Regions from separate parts of the Homo sapiens genome. Here region 1 is linked to region 2. The links are contacts of gene promoters, found by promoter capture Hi-C in blood cells and fetal thymus (Javierre and others, 2016). All regions are on one chromosome and are shown on one strand. Each heading gives the region's core, a stretch centred on a gene start or on the middle of the fragment in contact. The rest is flanking DNA. Distances are from core to core; before and after follow the strand shown.

What was found. Contacts are between HindIII fragments. The CHiCAGO score rates a contact against its expected background, and 5 or more counts as called.
Region 1: a contact is called between the fragment with the promoter of ZNF549 here and a fragment that was not itself captured in region 2, in 1 of 17 cell types (non-activated CD4 T cells). The highest score is 6.2, in non-activated CD4 T cells.

Annotation. Positions count from the first base shown.
Region 1 is chr19:57,523,864-57,529,313 of GRCh38, reverse strand. ZNF549 (zinc finger protein 549) reads right to left here and starts at 1,958. Exons shown (of 4, transcript NM_001199295.2): 1 at 1,708-1,958. The coding sequence starts at 1,740. The HindIII fragment of the contact is 12,430 bases long and covers 1-5,450 here.
Region 2 is chr19:57,934,874-57,940,629 of GRCh38, reverse strand. ZNF418 (zinc finger protein 418) reads left to right here and starts at 5,228. Exons shown (of 6, transcript NM_133460.3): 1 at 5,228-5,469. RefSeq lists enhancers at 5,261-5,350, 4,943-5,756. The HindIII fragment of the contact is 1,983 bases long and covers 651-2,633 here.

The sequences.
Region 1 (5,450 bases), core at 709-3,208, 410 kb after region 2:
ATATATAGGTTGGGTACTATCTGCAGTTTCAAGCCTCCGCTGGGGTTCTTGAAAGGTATCCTCTGAGGATAAGGGGGAACTACTGTTCAGACATTCATTGTTCAACTACTAAATGGTATAGCCTATTGCTCCTAGGCTACAAACCTGTACAGCAAGTTACTATACTAAATACTGTCAGCAACTGTAACACAGTGATAATTATTTGTGCATTTAAACATTTATAAACTTAGAAAATGCAGTTTGCCTCCTGATCAGAAAGAAAGAAAATGAAAAGGTACAGTAAAAATATGGTATCATAATCTTATGGGACCACCGTCACTGATGTGGTCAACACTGTTGTTATGCGGTCCATGACTTATCACAAGACACTTTTCACTGAGGAAATTACAACGATTTTAGGAATTCTGTGCCAGGAAAGCATGACAAAAAACAAACATTTATTTTTTATTAGAGCACAGAGTTATAGTGACATTTTATTCGGTTAACTAATTGCTTGCATAAATTTAATTTGTTAAATCTATACAGTCTAAACTTGTATTTTCCTGGGAGAGCTGCTCTTGCTGGGCTTGGGCTTCTCTGCTAGTCTGGCTGACCTTTCTCTGGCTCCACATAGAGTGAACAGTTCGCCAAGTCTTCTGAATGGTGACTCTACACAGTGTCCCACCCTCAAATCCATCCTATGCAGTGTGTATTCCTTACACATTCCCTTTGGAAGTACCCCCGGAACCCCATGGCCCTCCTATCTGCAGGCAGCTTCGCCAAGGCCGACCCACACTTTCCCAGCCTCCAGCCTCAGCCCTCCCTCTCTTCATCTCAAAGTAAAACCTTAAGATTTCCCGTCTAAATTTAAGGCTTGGCTTGAGTCTACGCCCCAGCCTGTCTCCATTTACACATCACTGAGTCAGTCCCCTCCCATGAATTTTCTACTTATGATTCCAACTGCCCATGTAACAACTTCACTCTGTGGCAATTTAGAAACACCACGTCCAAAATTCAACTCCTACTATTTCCCTGAAACCTGCTCCCTCACCAGATTTCTTTGTCAACTCTTCCAGATGTTCAGGTAAAAGAAAAACTTGGGATCATACTTCACTCCCACTTTTGCTCATAGGCACAAATGATGGAGCAGAAAATCCTGCTGGCTTTACCTTTAAGATCTACCAAGATTCTTATTACTTAGGTCCCTTCAGCAACCCGTCTGGTCCAGAATCCACCATAATCCTCCTGGAGCCTACTACAGCAGTCTCCTCACCAGTATCCCTGCGTCCACCCCCATCACTCCGTAACAGTCTGTTTTCTCCACTCATTGCCTTTGAAATATTTTTTCAGACCCTCACTCAGATCGTGTTCTCCTTTAGTTCACAACCCTCCATGGCTCCCAAAGACTCAGAATTAAAAACCCCGGTTGCTCAGGCTGCCATGGCAGCCGTGCCTTCTTCTCCTCATTCTCTCTGCTCCCTGCAGACACAGGTCCGCCCCCAAGTTTCCGAATGCTCGCGACCCCGGCGCACCTCCCAGGCTCTGCGCGTGCAGCCCCCACGGTACGCAACGCTCTCCCTTCTTCACCTCACCGCCCGTCAGCTCTGAGGACCCCACCCAGAACTCCTCGCTGTCCTGGAGAAGAGGCCTGAACTGCAGAGACCCACGCAGGTGACCCCAGTCCGGGGCCTCAGGACCCAGGTGAGGATCCGAGGACTCCGCTCTCACCTGCGGCGTAATCACTAGCGCTGCCTCGGCCATGGGACTTTAGGCGGGGCGGGGCCTGGAAAGGCGGGCGGTAAAGCCCGGGATCCGGCGTGCGTGCGGTGGCAAATCGCTGGGCGACGCTCAGACCGAGACCAGGCAAGCTCCTCTGCGGGCGGACACCACCTCCACCGGTTTCCGGCTCCAGTTACCTGGCCCGGACCCAGCGAGCCGGAAACGCCCAGCCCGCGGACGCGCTCGCAGGCAGCAAAAACGACCACCACCGGAAAGACGCCGGAAGATTCTGGCGTATTGCGCACTTACGGAGGTGCCCCTTTCCTGGGCAATGATTGGTCTAAGGCCCCGGCACGCTCGGCGCACAGTATTCTGGGTGGTGTAGTTCCTACCACGCCGCAGTCCGCCGCGCTGTGAGGACTCAATCCAAGAAAGAGAGGACAAAGGAAAAAACCCATCAAACTAGGGTCAGCAAAGCCTATTACATACACAGGATAAAAGAATACGATTTGATCTTCATTTCTCAACACAAAAGTTGACATATATTGCATACAATACATTAAAAATGTTGACAATTGAGAATTGACGCGACCCTTAATTTTTTTCTTTTTTTTAATGTAGAAACTATAACCAAAAATAAAATTCAAAGGCCTCCCAACTATCTGAATGGACCCCCTCCTCTCAGCATTATAGAGTTAACCTGAAAATCTAGTTCAGGCCATTATGGAAGAAGGGGTTGGACATGCCTCATTCTACCCCTACAGCAATAACATCAGCATAGACCTTAAGTCTGATAAGAAACATTTACAATCTATTTCTCTGAAACTTGCTACCTGCAGGCTTCATCTGTATGATAAAACCTGGGTCTCCAACCAAGGTGATCACTAACAGTGGGGTCAGCATCCCCTTATCCCACACGTTTGTGTTTATTCTGTTTTTTTGCCCTCAAGTGTTAGTGACTTAAATTACATAATGTATCTATTATCATAAGTGGAACTGAAATGAGATTGCAGAAACATTATATCTTCTTTTTCTTTTCTTTTTTTCCTTTTTTTTTTTTGACAGAGTCTCACTCTGTCGCCCAGACTGGAGTACAGTGGTGCAATCTCTGCTCACTGTAACCTCCACCTCCCAGGTTCAAGCGATTCTCCTGCCTCAGCCTCCCGAGTAGCCGGGACTACAGGCATGCGCCACCACCCCCGGATAATTTTTGTATTTTTAGTAGAGACAGGGTTTCACCATGTTGGCCAGGCTGGTCTAGAACCGGCCTCAAGTGATTCGCCTGCCTTAAAGTGCTGGGATTACAAGCATGAGCCACCATGCCTGGCTTTTTTCCCCCATATTTAGCAATTAGCTTTTGTTGCTATCCATTGTCTTCATTTCTCTTTAGTTTTTAATTGTTTATAATTTTGACATTTTATAATTACTTAAGAAAGGTTAGAAAAATTACCATTTAGATTGGAGTCATATTAAATAAGACACCTATATTGTAAAAATATCTTTATGAATGTAATCTTTGGCTATAGTGTTGTAACCGAGCGAGTTATAGAGAAATGCCACACTCTGAGACTAATTCTGGAGTCCTTTTATTGCCAGCGACCGAGAGACAGCTAGAGCTCAAAATTCTTGGCCCCGAAGAAGGGGCTAGATTTCTTTTTATACCTTGATCTAAATAGGGGAGGGGGAGTTTAGCTGAAGCAATTTTTACAGAAGCAGAACAGGCAAAAAGTTAAAAGATAAATGGTTACACAAACATTTACAGGAAAATAAACAGTTCCAGGTGCAGGGGCTTAATTATCACAAAGTGATAAACGCAGGGGCTTTGGGTACCATTAACTGAGTGCGTTCCTAGGAGCTGCTGGTACAGCGTGCCTCAGTGTCTATCAGTAAGTGCATTCCTGGATGTGCTTGGAGTCAGCTTGCACTAGTTATGTCCTTAAGGGAGGGGGATAAGGGGGCTGCAAGTGAAGAAACAAAAATGGAGTCTGTTTGGCTCTCTCAGCTGAGAGAGACAATCAGGTTAAAACAAGGTAGGGCATCACAATCGTTTGTCTCCACTATTATTTATTTCTGATCCTTTTATTTTTTTATTATTTTTTTTTTTTGAGATGGAGTTTCGCCCTTGTTGCCCAGGCTGGAGTGCAATGGCACGATCTCGGCTCACTGCAACCTCCACCTCCCAGGTTCAAGCGATTCTCCTGCCTCAGCCTCCCTAGTAGCTGGGATTACAGGCATGTGCCACCACGCCCAGCTAATTTTGTATTTTTAGTAGAGACGGGATTTCTCCATGCTGGTCAGGCTGGTCTCGAACTCCCGACCTCAGGTGATCGGCCCACCTCAGCCTCCCAAAATGCTGGGATTACAGGCAAGAGCCGCTGCACCCGGCCATGATCCTCTTATTTTAAGAGTTTTACGGGTCGGGCGTGGTGGCTCACGCCTGTAATCCCAGCACTTTGGGAGGCCGAGGCAGGCGGATCACCTGAGGTCAGGAGTTCGAGACAGCCTGACCAAAATGGTGAAACCCCGTCTCTACTAAAAATACAAAAAATTAGCCGGGCGTGGTGGTGGCGCCTGTAGTCCCAGCTACTCGGGAGGCTGAGGCAGGAGAATGGCATGAACCCAGGAGGCAGAGCTTGCAGTGAGCAGAAATCGTGCCACTGCACTCCAGCCTGGGCGACAGAGCAAGACGCCGTCTCAAAAAAAAAACAAAAACAAAAACAAAACAAAACAAACGCAAAAAAATTTAGCCGGGCGTGGTCGCGGGCTCCTGTAGTCCCAGCTACTCAGGAGGCTGAGGCAGGAGAATGGTGTGAACCCAGGAGGCGGAGCTTGCAGTGAGCCGAGACCGTGCCACTGCATTCCAGCCTGGGCGACAGAGCGAGACTCCGCCTCAGAAGTAAATATATACATAAACGAATGAATAAATCTTACTTCATTCAAACTTTGTCACATTTTTTCTTATTTGTGTTTTTCTAAAAGTTCACATATTCTCTAAATATCTCTTTCATTTATTTTTAAAGAGTAATCTGCAAAGCATTATTATCCTTCATATTACTTTAATTTGCACCAGCTTTAAAGTGAACAATCAGGTAGGTACTTTACGTATTGACTGTTTAAAATATAAATGAATATCTGCATTAAATATGATTTAGTGGAATATTGATATTGACTTATTTTATTATATTGACCTTTCTGCTATTTTTAAACAACTTTCTTGAAGTATTGGTTGATATTCTAGAAGAAATTCCATCTCTTTTAGTTAGCTTGCAATATTTAGTTTTGAATTTCAGAAAGCTACGCAAAGAATCCATAATACGGAAAATATTGCTTCCTTCTTTACATGTGTTTATATAGTTATCAGAAAGTTTGAAGTAATCATTCTTGTTGTGATGCATGAGTAATTACTCAGAGTAGGACTTGAAATAATTTATCAGTCTCTATTATTTCTGTTCATTTGGTTCTTGCCATTCCTGTGACATTGTTTTCACATATTCTAGGCCCACCATAATTATCTCACTTCAGACCTTGATATTAATTATCCTTAGATATCTCTATATTGTGGGGCATGTGACACTATCAGGAATATTTTTGCTATACGCTTGATAGACTTATTGTTGCTGTTTGGCCCCAAAATTCCTTCCTCAGCAGGGGAGTTCAGTAATGCCCCAGAGTCAGGACGCTTTCTGCCCCGAATCTCTTCTTTCCTTTACAGCAGAAACTTAAATGCTTCCTGTCATAGCTGGAAGTTCGTG
Region 2 (5,756 bases), core at 393-2,892:
TGATCAGAGTAATTAGCATATCCATCACCTCAAACATTCGTCATTCCTTTATATTGGGAACAGTCAGTCTCAATTGCCATTCTCCTAACAACTTGAAATTATATATTATTAACTTTAGTTCTCCTGTAGTGGTATAGAACACTAGAACTTATTCCTCCTGTCTAGTTGTAATTTTGTAGCTTGTAACCAATCTTTGTCTATTCCTGCCTACCCACTACCCTTCCCAGCCTCTAGTATCCTCTGTTCTACTTTTTACTTCTAAGAGATCAACTTTTTTTTGTGGGGGTGGGGGACAGTCTTGCTTTGTCTCCCAGGCTTTTTTTTTTTTTTTTTTTTTTTTTTTTTTTGAGATGGAGTTTCACTCTTTTTGCCCAGGCTGGAGTGCAGTGGCATGATCTTGGCTCACCGCAGCCTCTGCCTCCTGGGTTCAAGCGATTCTCCTGCCTCAGCCTCCTGAGTAGCTGGGATTACAGGCATGCACCACCACCCCGGCTAATTTTGTATTTTTAGTAGAGACAGGGTTTCTCCATGTTGGTCAGGCTAGTCTTGAACTCCCGACCTCAGGTGATCCACCCGCCTCAGCCTCCCAAAGTGCTGGGATTACAGGCGTGAGCCACCGCACCCAGCTTTTTTTTTTTTTTTTTAAAGCTTCCACATATGAGTGGGAATGTGCATGTTTATGTTCCTGGCTTATTTCACTTAAATAATGTCCTCCATTTCCATCCATGTTGCCTCAGGTGATAGGATTTCATTCTGTTCTTTGAATAGTATTCCTTTGTGTGTATAAACCACATTTTCTTTATCCATTTATCTGTTGTTGGACATCTAGGTTGATTCCATATTTTGGCTATTGTGAATAGTGCTGCAGTAAACGGGGTGTAGATGTGTCTCCAATGTGATGATTTTCTTTCCTTTGGATAAATTCCCAGTAGGGGGATTGCTGGATGATATGGTAGTTGTGTTTGTAGTTTTTTGTTTTGTTTTGTTTTGTTTTTTGAGACAGAGTCTCACTCTGTTATCCAGGCTGGAGTGCAGTGGTGTGATCTTGGCTCACTGCAACCTCCGCCTCCCAGGTTCAAGCAATTCTCCTGCCTCAGCCTCCTGAGTAGCTGGGATTACAGGTGCGTGCCACCACCCCTGCTAATTTTTGTATTTTTAGAAGAGACGGGGTTTCACCATGTTGGTTAGGGTGTTCTCGAACTCCTGACCTCGTGATCCGCCTGCCTCAGCCTCCCAAAGTGCTGGGATTACAGGCGTGAGCCATCGCGCCTGGCATATTTGTAGTTTTTAGAGGGACCTCAATACTGTTCTCCATAATGGCTGTACTGGTTTGCATTTGCACCACCAGTGCATGAGTTCCCTTTTCTTGTATTTTGTTGGGTTTTTTTTTTTTTTTGAGATGGAGTCTTTCTCTGTCGCCCAGGCTGGAGTGCAGTGGCATGATCTTGGCTCACTGCAACCTCCGTCTCCCGGGTTCAAGCTATTCTCCTGCCTCAGTCTCCTGAGTAGCTGGGATTATAGGCACGCACCACCACGCCTGGCTAATTTTTGCATTTTTAGTAGAGACAGGGTTTCACCACGTTGGTCAGGCAGTCTCGAACTCCTGACCTCGTGATCCACCCAGCTCGGCCTCCCAAAGTGCTGGGATTACAGATGTGAGCCACCGCACCTGGCCATTAGTTCCCTTTTCTCTGCATCCTTGCCAGCGTCTGTTTTTGTCTTTTTGATAATAATTATCCTAAACGGGGAGAGTGATACCTCATTGCGGTTTTGATTTGCATTTCCCAGATAGTGATGAGTGTGTTTTAATATATTTTTGACCGTTTGTATGTTGTCTTTTGAAAAATGCCTATTCAGATCGTTTGACATTTTTAAATTGGATTGTTTGAGGGTTTCTTTGCTGTTGAAATACTTCAGTTGCTTGTGTATTGTATTCTGGCTCTATTTTTTTTTGAGACGGAGTTGCTCTGTTGTCCACGCTGGAGTGCAGTGGCACGATTTCAGCTCACTGCAACCTCTGCCTCCCGGGTTCAAGCAATTCTCCTGCCTCAGCCTCCCGAGTAGCTGGGATTACAGATGTGCGCCACCACACCCACCTAATTTTTGTATTTTTAGTAGAGACGGGTTTTTGCCATGTTGGCTAGGCTGGTCTCAAACTCCTGACCTCAAGTGATCTGCCCACCTTAGGCTCCCAAAGTGCTGGGATTGCAGGCATGGCCACTGCATCTGGCCTCTTTCTTGATTCTTGATTACACTGTCACTGAGTGGGTTCTACATCAGAAAAAGATGAATAGGCCAGGTGTAGTGGCCGAATCCTATAATGCCAGCACTTAGGGAGGCCGAGGCAGGAGGATTGCTTGAACTCAGGAGTTTGATACCAGCCTGGGCAACATGGCAAAACCACATCTCTCAAAAATTAGCTGGTTGTGGTGGTGCATGCCTATAGTCCCAATTACTCCTGAATGCTGAGATGGGAGGATCACTTGAGCCTGAGAGGTTGAGACTGCAGTTGAGCCTTGATCATGCCACTGCGCTTCAGCCTTGGCAACAGAGTGAGACGCTGTCTCAAAAAGGGGAGAAAAAAATAGAATGTGGAGATAAGCAGATTTCAAATGTGAAGTGAAAAAGAAGCTTTTCATTGTTCAAACCATATTGCTAAGTGAGAAAAAGTACAGATGTGTATAGAATCTATGACTTTTTTCCTATAAGATGAAAAACTTGTAACATAATTGACACACAGAATAATGAAGAAAGGGAGACACAATTCTATGAGGATAATACTATACTGCAGATTTCACCTTCTGTTTTTACTTATTCATTAAATTATTTATTTGGAGACAGAGTCTTGCTCTGCTGCCCAGGCTGGCCTCAAACTCCTTTGCAGAAGTGATCCTCCCTCTAAGCCTCCCAAGTAGGTAGGTGAACAGGCACAATTTTTCTCCACCTTGGTATTGTTCAATGTTTTTAATAAAGAAAAAAAAATCTCAATGACAAAACCAACAAGGGGGACATTTTTAATCACATGCTGACCTTAATTCCATCTCTTCGTAGACATCACTGTTAAAACTTCTGGGCCGGGCGAGGTGGCTCACACCTGTAGTCCCAGCACTTTGGGAGGCCACCTCGGGTGGATCACCTGAGGTGAGGAGTTTGCGGCCAGCCTGGCCAAAATGGTGAAACCTTGTGTCTACTGAAAATACAAAAATTAGCTGAGTGTGGTGGCAGGCACCTGTAATCCCAGCTACTTGGGAGGCTGAGGCAGGAGAATGAATTGCTTGACCCAGGAGGAGGAGGTTGCAGTGAGCTGAAACTGTGCCATTGTACTCCAGCCTGGACAACAAGAGTGAAACTCCTTCTCAAAACAAACAAACAAACAAACAAACACCTGTAAAGTCAGCTGGGAGCAGTGACTTATGCCTGTAATGTCAGCATTGTGGGAGAAGGAGGCAGGCAGGTCAGAGGTCAAGAGTTTGAGACCAGTCTGGCCAACATGGTGAAACCTTGTCTCTACTAAAAATACAAAAATTAGCTGGGCGTGGTGGCAGGCATCTGTTATCCCAGCTACTTGGGAGACTGAGGCAGGAGAATCGCTTGAACCCGGGAGGTGGAGGTTGCAGTGAGCCAAGATGGCGCCACTGCACTCCAGTCTGGGACAGAACGAGACTTTGTCTCAAAAAAAAAAAAAAAAAAAAAGAAAGAAAAACTTCTGTGAAGTGTAAATTTTTTTCACCATCCACTCATGTTTCAATTGACCTATTTCTGTCATCGCAGTTATTAGATAGTCGTTGGTAATAAGTTTCTGTAACTGGCATTTCACCTGTTTTTCTGGTATCATATTAGTTCCTCATGCAGAACACTCCCCGCTGTCACAAGAGAAACAAATGATAATCACTTCCCAGGAAAGATAACAAGCTCGATAATTTAACATACGCCTAGTGTCTCCAGGTGGAGATTATCACCACCATTACCAATACCAAGCTGAGATTTCTCTTTCATTGTTCTTTACCTGAGACTGACTTCAAGTTCCTAAAATGAGTTGAAAATATAAGTTAGAATACCAAGTAAGGGATATTACATGAATAAATGTTTTGCTGAATGAATTGGACACAATAATTGACTATATAAGCAGGAGAGTTGTTTTTCCATGGGAACGACTGATTGACCTTTGTACTCTTTCTTTAGCCTCTCCTCTATCTTCCTTGGCATGGTCCTATCTGGATTAGTTCTCTTTTGTCCCTGGCAGACTGAAAAACCAACTCTAATGCCTCAGAGTGAGGCAGGAGAATAGGGAATTAGGGTAACCAAGAATGAAGGCATAAGCAAAAGAACAGCAGGTGCAGCTAGTTCTAGGCAAGATGAGGCAGCACACAGGCCACGTCCTCACTCCTGTGGTAACAAGACAGAAGTCTCCACTTCAGCCTCTGATTGGTTGTGCACCAGTCCTTCATAGGATTGGAGGCCTTTAAAGAACTCTTGGGGTATTATAAAATTCTAGCTTATTCATGGCAAAAACCGCAATTACTTTTGCACCAACCTAATAAAACCCTAAAAAACATTGTAATCGGGGTTCTTGAGCCGCTTGGTCGCCTGCTCCCACACCTACATTCCACTTCTGTGGAGTGTACTTTCCCCTCAATAAATCTGCGCTTTCATTGGTCCGTTCTTTCGTTGCTTTTTTTGTGTGTTTTGTTCACTTCTTTGTTCAATGCGCCAACAACTGGACAACTCACAGCCAAGACATTCTATCCGGTAACAAGAGTGCATTCATGTGAATTATAACAGAGTAATGTTTATCAGCCTCTGCTTCCAGTGCAAGCATTCTGTGTCTAAACGATTGTATAAAGTGATACACGAATTTGGATTTGTAGCCTTTGGGGGCCTTCACAGTATTTTTAGCGCCTGGGAGCTTGAATTTACAGAAATGTGAATTAATATTTTTGCAAACACTTAGGTGGTCAGTTACAAACAGGGATTCCCCAGGAATCTCAATATGGCCTCTAAGGAGGGGCGAGACCATCCTCTGCCCTAAAAGGGTACGCGCTTTAATGAACCCCCTGAGGTAGGGCTGGGACTTCCCTGCAGAAGCGCCTTTGGGAAGCGGCAGCTTTACTACCTTGGAACCTGGGGAACTACATTACCCAGAAAGCTCTACATTGAATGACAGCGCAACAGAACCAGTAAGGGCTCAGAATAAAGGCGTTTCTGTGTGCGCACGTAACGTAGTGGCGGGATTCTCAGCGTTCTCTGGTAGCGACCATTTTGGTTAATGTTGGGTGTGTTTCTGCGGTTTGTGAGGTGAGAGGCGCTGGAGCTATGGGTCCGAACCGCGGTGTCTGAACCCAGAAGGTGAAGAGTCCTTCTTGCTGCACAGAGGCAGATCTTAGGCCCCGTAACGGCGCCCGCCGCTCCCGGCAGTGCTTTCCCCGCGTACTCGGGATGGCGGCGGCCGCGCTGAGGCTCCCGGCTCAGGTAATTGTGCCTTCCCTGCCCTCAGGTCACCTCATCCTAACCCGAATCCTGAAGCAGCGAGAGAGCGGCGACTGTTCACAGGTCTGCAGCCCGGACCCGGCGTCGGGACACTGAGGCGTTCGCGGGAGAGGTCCTTGTTTCTGACACCTGTGGGATGCGGTGGGGAGAGCGACAGGCACAGGGACCGGCGCGGGCTATGGCCTGGAGGACAGACCCGGGAGGATGGAACCTGGGGTCCACAGGCGCCTGTAGGGAACAACGTGTGAGGCGAAGCTTCTCCTGGAAGA